2 separate regions of the Homo sapiens genome follow, and region 1 is linked to region 2. The links are contacts of gene promoters, found by promoter capture Hi-C in blood cells and fetal thymus (Javierre and others, 2016). All regions are on one chromosome and are shown on one strand. The core of a region is centred on a gene start or on the middle of the fragment in contact, and the rest is flanking DNA. Distances in the headings are between cores, read along the strand shown.

Region 1 (4,302 bases), core at 1,803-4,302, 98 kb before region 2:
TCAAAACTCAGAACTACACACTAAAAAGGAAGGAATTTTTATTGTATGTAAATTATTCGCTGAACTTGACTAAAACGACAAAGAAAAAGGAAAGAACCACTGATAAATAAACAAGACCGGTAATACACTGGTTCTGGTTTATTAGAAAGTCTTTACTGCTTTGTTTTTTTTCCTTTTTCTCAATGTAGGCTAAAAACTATCCTATGCACACACACTTAATGTATGTGTGTATGCTTTTTTAACGAAATGATGACAGAAGGAAATAATGATTGTTTTCTGCTTAACAGTCCTTTTAAAAGCAATATCTGAGAACTCTTGCGCTGGTTTTTAAATTCAAACACCTGGAACATTCTAGATTCAAACATCCAAGTAATCCCCAAAGTCCTTCTAAATATAAAAACTAATTATCCTTTGTAGGTCTTATCTAAGATCTAGGTTATTCTAATTTTACATTTTTGAAGCACAGGACACCTTTAAACGAGTCACCAGTTAAAAACATTAATCCAATGGCACTTCCAGTGGCTACCTCTGAAACAGCAAATATAGTTGTTTGAATGTTTGTTTTCTCCTCTATGGATCAAAGCAATTCACTTCTAAATATGCTTCTGTACCTTGGAGAACTGGGATTTCAAGCAGCATTTACTTAAGTTTAGTGGTCTCCATAACTGTTTTCTTTATGAATGAAACTCACATGTTTTTTGTCACTGAGGAAAAATTTATTTATCTCAACAAAAACTGTTAAGTCCCTAACAAGGGCTGAGGAAAGACCATGGCCTATGACTTTATTTCTCCAATACGTTTAATTTTAGAGTTTCTACCTTTAAATATTAGCCTCTTTAGAATGAATATACCAGAGAAGACATGCATTTTTGCAAGACTTTTCAGGTAGAAAAAACAGTGAGGCAAGAGTGTGACTTCCTACAGTTCACTCAGTAATTCATTTGCTGAATCAAAACTAAAAGTTGTAAAAAATTGTATGTTAACTCAGCATCCATATGATACATTATCCTTAAAATAACTATCCTCAGAAAAAGCCTTATTATTTTCATTCTACTGTCTTAAACATATGGCATATCACATAAATGAAACACATCAGAAATGAATCTTTCGCATCTACAGAACAATTTAAAAGAAAGAAGGGGAAGAGAGGGAAGGAGGAAAAGGAAAAGAGAAGGTAGGTAAAAAGAAATGGAGGGAAGAATAAGCTGTGTAAGCAACTACTCACAGTTCTAAACTTTTCTAATTCTAGGCCCCAATGTGCCAATTCCTAGCTACTTAGCCTCAGTGGTTTAATACAACTCACTTGCCCTCCCTGACCCTGGGATTTTCATCTGGAAAATAAGGAAGTTGGCCTAGAACAGTGGTTTTTAGTGCTTTCTACTCTGAAATCTCTTTTTAAAGTACCAATTAACTATGGTTTCCCACGTGTGAGTCGTCCGTTAAGTACCTGTTTAAAAAATATATATTTTACAAATTAACAGTTACATCCATTTGAAAATTCCCTTCTTCATTCAAAAAAGTAATGCAAGTCTACATATGGCAATATACTATTTTCTTCCCTTTTGTGAAAGCCATTTTTGGTGCACATATGAATTCAGACAGTTCTTTCAACAACTCCATGCATTCTATACCACAGCAAAGATCATGTTCATGTACCATGGAAAATTTTTTTTTATTGTGGAAATACCCTCAACACAACATGTGGCACACAGCAGATATGCAAATTATCTAAGATTCCTTCCTGCTCCCAAATTGAGTGATATTGCTTTGTACTTAGAACAAAAAATTAAACCTATTATTACTCAAGTAAAAATCAAAAACACAAAATAGCATTTAGAAAATTTTACTAAAATTCTATTCTTAATGATTATCTCCAAAGTCAGAAAAGAAAGCAACAAATTACTTTCTTTAATTTTTCTATGTAATACATATCTATGTTGAATGAATTCTATTTACAAGACATACCTATAAAAAATTAGAAAAAAATTCGAAGTTTTTATAAATTTAATGCTGGTATAAATAAGTGATACACACAGTTTAAAAGGTATTATCTCTGCCTTTTAAAAGCTTATACTCTGAAAAAGAATACAAAATAATTATGCCAGAGACAAGATTCCTAAACCAACAGAGAATAATAATGTATTCATTCATTCACTCATTCATTTATTCACACATGCAAATATTTACTGAATAGTTGCTGATTACATAAAAGACATTCATCCAAATGAGGGTACAGCAAGATAACTAAGACATAAACCTCCTAGCTCCAAGAGATCCAGCCAGGGTCTCATTAAAAACCAACAACCAAAACAAAAACTGTTATGGAATTTTGAAAAACAGGGAAAGTGGGTTTGCCGTGTAGCCAGATATATGTACATCTCATGGACACTGCCATCTGTTTAGATGCCTAGTGTGCATGTGATAAGCTCTAAATTTCTTAGACTACTGGGTTCACTGATGGTACCAGACATAATTTTATATCTTTCCCCCTTGAAGGTCTGGATGTACGCCATTAACTTAATTTAACACATTATGCCACTGGAGTGCCCTGAACCTAAAATAAATCAGTGCTTTCTAGGTATGTTTCCTTTTACAGACATTTCTAAAAATGTATTAAATTGTATCTTTCACTAAAGAAAAAGGATTTGCTCCCAGAATAGCTAGCTACCTGTACTTCAAGAAGTAAGTCACTCCTAGGTAAACTGATTTCAGATGTTAAGCACACACATGCACACCAACACACACAGAATTCACCAACTTTGAGACAGTGGAACTTTCCACCTAAAGAATGTAAGAATTGAACATAAAAATGAGATTGAGAGAACTGCTGTAAGGAAAGAAAAATAAAGATTAACACTTGGAGAAAATAGGAGAGGTTGAAAGCATGCACTGCATGGCTAAAAGTGGTAAAGCTCTAATGCTTAAGAAATTGCAAAGAAGTTGATGAAACGCCAAAATGTCTAGAAAGGCCTCGATCAACATCTTGGTTAGAGAGGGCTAAATGGCAAAATTACAGCAAGTGGACAATTCATTTACCGATACAGGAACTTGGAGAGCAAAAGGAAGTAGGGAGTCTTGATTGCTGGTTCAGAAAAGAAAAATTCAATGAAGAAGCTAAAACTGACCCCCTGAAAAATGTAAGTTTGTCAACTGATTAAAAGTTTTTTACAAAAATATGTTTCCAGCTCTGAACTCCAAGAAACTTTCAGAATATTGTTGAAACATGCCTGTTCCTTTCCCTAACATTCGCAAATTGCATTTTGCATTTCAGTTATAGACCTACTGAAGTTTAAAATGGCTGGAAATTATTTCAAATCTAGAACCTCAAATGTTTCAGAAGAAATAGAGTATTATTCCTGAATATTGGCAACAGCGTTTTCCATTACAAAAAGTATACAGATGTTCCAAACACACTTTTAACCAGAAAAAATGATGTGTTGACACTTAGTTGACTTGATTCTTTTCACCTACATATGAACTCAATCATTTCCCTTTGTCTCCCAGTTTAAGAGATTTACCAAGGTATAAATACTACCATAGGTGTATGTGTGTGTGTTTTTTCAAAAGGTCTGTCCAAATGATGAATATTTTTGACTTCCTTAAAAACTAAGTAAGCAAGCATTAGATTTCAACCTAGGAAAGAAGATTTTTAAATATCCCCTTACCCTAATGTCAGCTGCTACCCACGACCTCTATTGAAATGTTCACGACAAAAGGTCACAGGGTGCCCCATCCCCTCCTAAACAGCAATGGAAACGGGCACACACTCACTGCACTATTCTTCTTAATCTCTATTGGAATCTACCCCATGATACCAAATTGAATATAAATTGTAACTGCATATATATCTATCAAAAGTTTAAATTAAAAAGTAGAGGAGACAGATACAGGGATTTTTTTGAATGGGGTTCAAAAATCTGCATCAGAATATTAAACTAATTACTACTACTAACCCTTCTCAAATGAAGTTGGAGTTTCAATATTACCACAGTCTCAATGTTTGCACATGTTTTACCCTATCAGGGGCACAAGCTTCATTCTCTTTAATTAGGATAAAGACACTGTTAGGGAGTAACTGGGCCATAATTAAGAGTTATATTAGGGAAGGATACACTTTATTAGACTTGAATACTTCTCAGATCAAAAACTTCACCACCATTAGTAGGACATTCCTAGTATAATACATCACTTCCTTTGATGATCTTGGAACTAGAAAAGTCAGATGTTTACAAAGACAGTGATCTCATCGATTCCTGACCACCTTCAAAATTAATATTTAATTGTAACTTAATGAAAGAGCCA
Region 2 (4,240 bases), core at 665-3,164:
ATACCTAAAATGGACGCATTCCTCCTCTTGCTTTTGGGCCCTACTCTCTATGGAGTAGGCATTTTTTTGTTTCTTCATTTCTGTAATAAAATTGCTTTCACTTTACTCTGTGGACTTGCCTTAAATTCTTTCTTGTGTGACATCCAAGAACCCTCTCTTGGGGTCTGGTTCGGGACCCCTTTCTGGTAACAATACCTCCTTCTTAGTGTGTGATAGAGATTTTTAAAAAAGAATGTACCAGAATATTAAAATGGGATGCTTTCTATCTCAGTTTTTGGCTGTGGCTTTAAAAGGCTGAGTAAAAAAGAGACAGAAAGAGAGAAAGTATGTGGGAAGTATTTCGTTTTGCATTCCAAAGTGAGGTGCTAGACTTATGTAGTACTTCCAAAGGAGGTTGCTACAAACTTAGTTTTTTCCAACTTCAATCCAATAAAAGGATTCATATTGAATAGCTCAGGAAGGGAGAATTTCTTGGGAGCAAGTTATTGAAAAACAATGGCATTTTCCTTCCTCCTTCATATGGGGAAAGGGCTTTGAGAAAAACACTTCGAGTTTAAAATATGTCCATTGAAGCATGGTGAACCTAATAAAATAGTGTCTATGAAATCTAAAGGGCAAGAAGCTGTGAGAATTGGCTTGATACCAGACTGAAGAGATGACTGCACCAAGAACTGCTTCACTTTCAGTAATGAGAGTCAAGGATGTGGGTTTTCTGTGGGCAGATGTAGAGCATGTGGAGAGAGTCAGCCTGGGTCAATTATAAAAGGGACCTTGCCCCAAGGGCTTTCTGTCAGGGCTGATGGGGGAAGCAAACTCATCAGGATGCTGATGGTGGTGTCAAATGCAGAAGATGAGAGAGTAGGGTGAGGATGAGGGGCATAGCAGATCTGCCAGAAGAGGAGTATTATTGGAGGTAAGGACGCCTATGTTACTATTCGCACTGGGGGTTATGTGACCCCCAGAAACATTCCAAGATGAGTCAGCTTTGAGCATTCACCAAAGCCATGAGGGCACAAAGACAGGTCATGATATTATGTCAAGTAAGACTTTGTTTTACTTCTCTGCATGCATCTCCATCCCCAGTTCTGGAGGAGACAAAAGGCAGCCTACTGTGATAGGGGAGATTGTGAATATAAACTGGCCACAAGCTCCTTCCCACTGAAGCCTTCCAGGATGAATGGGGTCCAAGCTAGGGAAAAGAGAAGCTTTATTAGTATTCATGGTTTGGGGTCACATATAAGAATGGTTATTTGAATTACTGTTATATGGTTATTTTTCTAGTACAAGTAACCATAGGGATTCTTATTATTTTGATGTGGCCAGTAGAGCCATTAATACCTGCCTTTGGGTTTACTCAAGGGGTAGGGAACAACAACTACCACTGAGTGGGTTGGAATGCATGGGGATGGGAGGAAAAGCTGTTTTTTCTGATTATGACTTATGGAGTTTTTCTCTTTCAATTAGGTGGTATAATAACAATATTCTGGAGCAAAGTGTTTCTTGACCTAAATCTACAGAATGTGTATAATTTTGCTGGCTATCTTCCCTCTGCTCTCAGATGTATGCTGCCTTTTCTCACCCTACTTTCAGTCCTAGGAGGCTGATCTTTTTGGAACATATAAATGTTCCTGTGCCCTCTGGCTTTGGTGTGGATCAAGCAATAGATAATTTGGGGAAGACAGAATAGAGGAAGAGGAGGAGAGAGGTCAGGATAATTTTCTCCTGGCCACTCCTTGCAAGACCTCTTCCCGGGAGTATGCTCCTGAAGAAAAGTCACTACTTTTCTTTTCTTTTTGTGCTTTGCTTTTTTTTTTTTTTTTTTCAGATGGTGTCCCGTTCTGTTGCCCAGGCTGGAGTGCAATGGCGTGATCTTGGCTCACTGCAACCTCTGCCTCCCGGGTTCAAGCGATTCTCCTGCCTCAGCTTCCCAAGGAGCTGGGATTACAGGCGCGTGCCACCACACCCAGCTAATTTTTATATTTTTAGTAGAGACGGGGTTTCGCTTTGCTGGCCAGGCTGGTGACAAACTCCTACCCTCAGGCGATCCACCTGCCTCGGCCTCCCAAAGTGCTGAGATTACAGGCATGAGCCACTGCACCCGGCCAAGTCACTACTTTTCTCAAGGCATCTGAAACTCTGTGACTCTCTGACTTTTGGAAACCTCTTCCTTTCTTGTCTTTTCAGGCCACCGTGGGCTGCTGTGCCATCCATTATAATCTACCTGTACCCAGAGTTTTGTAAATAGTCTTCCTTTGAAAAAACCCTCCTCAAATTTTCCTATTTCAAAGGTGACACCTATTTCTTGTTGGAACCCTAACCCAATAGCATTTCTTGCTTTACTGACCTAAAATATTAAATGGGAGAATTAAAGCAATAAGAGTTGTACAAATATTTAATAGTAATTGAATTCAAATATAGAGCACTATTATTGTTATTATTTGCAAGACATTTTTAGTGTTGTGTGAAGGAGTGAGAGAAACCATTATTTAGAAAAATTCTAGGCCAATCATCAATTTTTTTTTTTTTGAGATGGAGTTTCGCTCTTGTGACCCATGCTGGAGTGTAATGGTGTGATCTCAGCTAACTGCAACCTCCGCCTCCTGGGCTCAAGTGATTCTCCTGCCTCAGCCCCCAAGTAGCTAGGATCACAGGCATGCGCCGCCACACCCAGCAAATTTTGTATTTTTAGTAGAGATGGTGTTTCACCATGTTGGTCATGCTGGTCTCAAACTCCCAACCTCAGATGATCTGCCTGCCTCGGCCTCCCAAAGTGCTGGGATTAAGGGCATGAGCCACAGTGCCTGGCCGTCAATATCTTCTAATGTTAAAGAGTCAGTCAGATAGTAGATACTATTCTTCCAGAAAAAAGTCAGGGCGTGGTAGCTCATGCCTGTAATCCTAGCACTTTGGAAGGTTGAGGCAGGCAGATCACTTGAGATCAGGAGTCCCAGCTACTTGGTAGGCTGAGGCAGGAGAATCGCTAGAACCCGGGATGTGGAGGTTGCAGTGAGCTGAGATTTTGCCACTGCACTCCAGCTTGGGTGACAGAGCAAGACTCTGTCTCAAAAAACGAAAAAAAGAAAACAGAAATAAAATGGTAACTTCAGACTTTAAACAAGTGAATGGAAATGAGAAAAATATTTTGGGCTTCAAAGTATAGTTGAGTTAGTGTTGCCCGGAGAATTGAAGTAATTTGCACATGAATCAGAAAATGAAGCTAGTGTCCTATTCAGGTAAAAATGTGTTAAGCAATACAAAATAGGAAACAACAGGTGGTTCTTTATTTCAAGTTAATATGACCTGATATAGGGTTTTCCCTGTTTAGCTTTTTATATTTGTTTCTTTTCATTTTTGTTTTCCCTAGCTTTCATGAATTTTTTTGTTTCCATCTCCTGGTGGACCTTTTTGAAAGTAGAGTTAATTTCCTTTTTCTTTTCTGATATTTTATAGTAATATAGAATTAAATAATATGTTTTGTACCCTGGTGACTCAGAGTTTTAAAATCTGGGATTATGGAGCAATATAATTCAGGGGCCTATACGTGTAGATGGGAAAGGGTTACATCTTTAGTTCCATTAACCTGTAAATGAAAGATAGCATTTATGACCGAACGCAGTGGCTCACACCAGTAATCCCAGCACTCTGAAAGGCAGAGGTGGGCAGATCACTTGAGGCCAGGAGCTCGAGACCAGGCTGGCCAACATGGAGAAACACAGTCCCTACTAAAAATACAAAAATTAGCCAGGTGTGGTGGCAGGCACCTATAATCCCATGCCTATAATCCCAGCTACTTGGGAGGCTGAGGCAGGAGAATCACTTGAAACTGGGAGGTGGAGGGAGCAGTGAGCCGAGATCTCACCATTGCACTCCAGCCTGGGCAACAAGAGCAAAACTGCGTCTCAAAAAAAAAAAAAAATGATTTAGTCACTGCCCTTCAGCCTAGGCAACAGAGTGAGACTCCATCTCAAAAAATAAAAATAAAAATAAACATAATTTTATATATATATATATAGCATTTACTTTATGAATATAGAAAAAAATAATAGTAATAGTTGTGTCTGAACATTGTTACTCATATAAATCACAAATACTTTCAAAGCACATTTTAATTATCACAGATGCTTTGAAATGGTTATGTTCTGCACTAGTTACAACAATTTTTTTTTTTTTTTTTTTTTTTTTTTTTTAGACAGAGTCTCCCTCTGTCACCCAGGCTGGAGTGCTGTGGCACAATCTTGGC

What was found. Contacts are between HindIII fragments. The CHiCAGO score rates a contact against its expected background, and 5 or more counts as called.
Region 1: a contact is called between a fragment that was not itself captured here and the fragment with the promoter of OSTN-AS1 in region 2, in 1 of 17 cell types (total B cells). The highest score is 5.2, in total B cells.

The regions. Positions count from the first base shown.
Region 1 is chr3:191,331,551-191,335,852 of GRCh38, reverse strand. All of the region lies in intron 1 of CCDC50 (coiled-coil domain containing 50), which reads right to left. It also overlaps a transcript of UTS2B not described here. Among named protein-coding and RNA genes, the nearest start is that of UTS2B, 3.2 kb to the right of the region's middle. The HindIII fragment of the contact is 1,965 bases long and covers 2,070-4,034 here.
Region 2 is chr3:191,232,279-191,236,518 of GRCh38, reverse strand. OSTN-AS1 (OSTN antisense RNA 1) reads left to right here and starts at 1,914. Exons shown (of 6, transcript NR_133663.1): 1 at 1,914-1,947. The region is part of intron 3 of OSTN (osteocrin); the gene reads right to left. The HindIII fragment of the contact is 7,111 bases long and covers 1,208-4,240 here.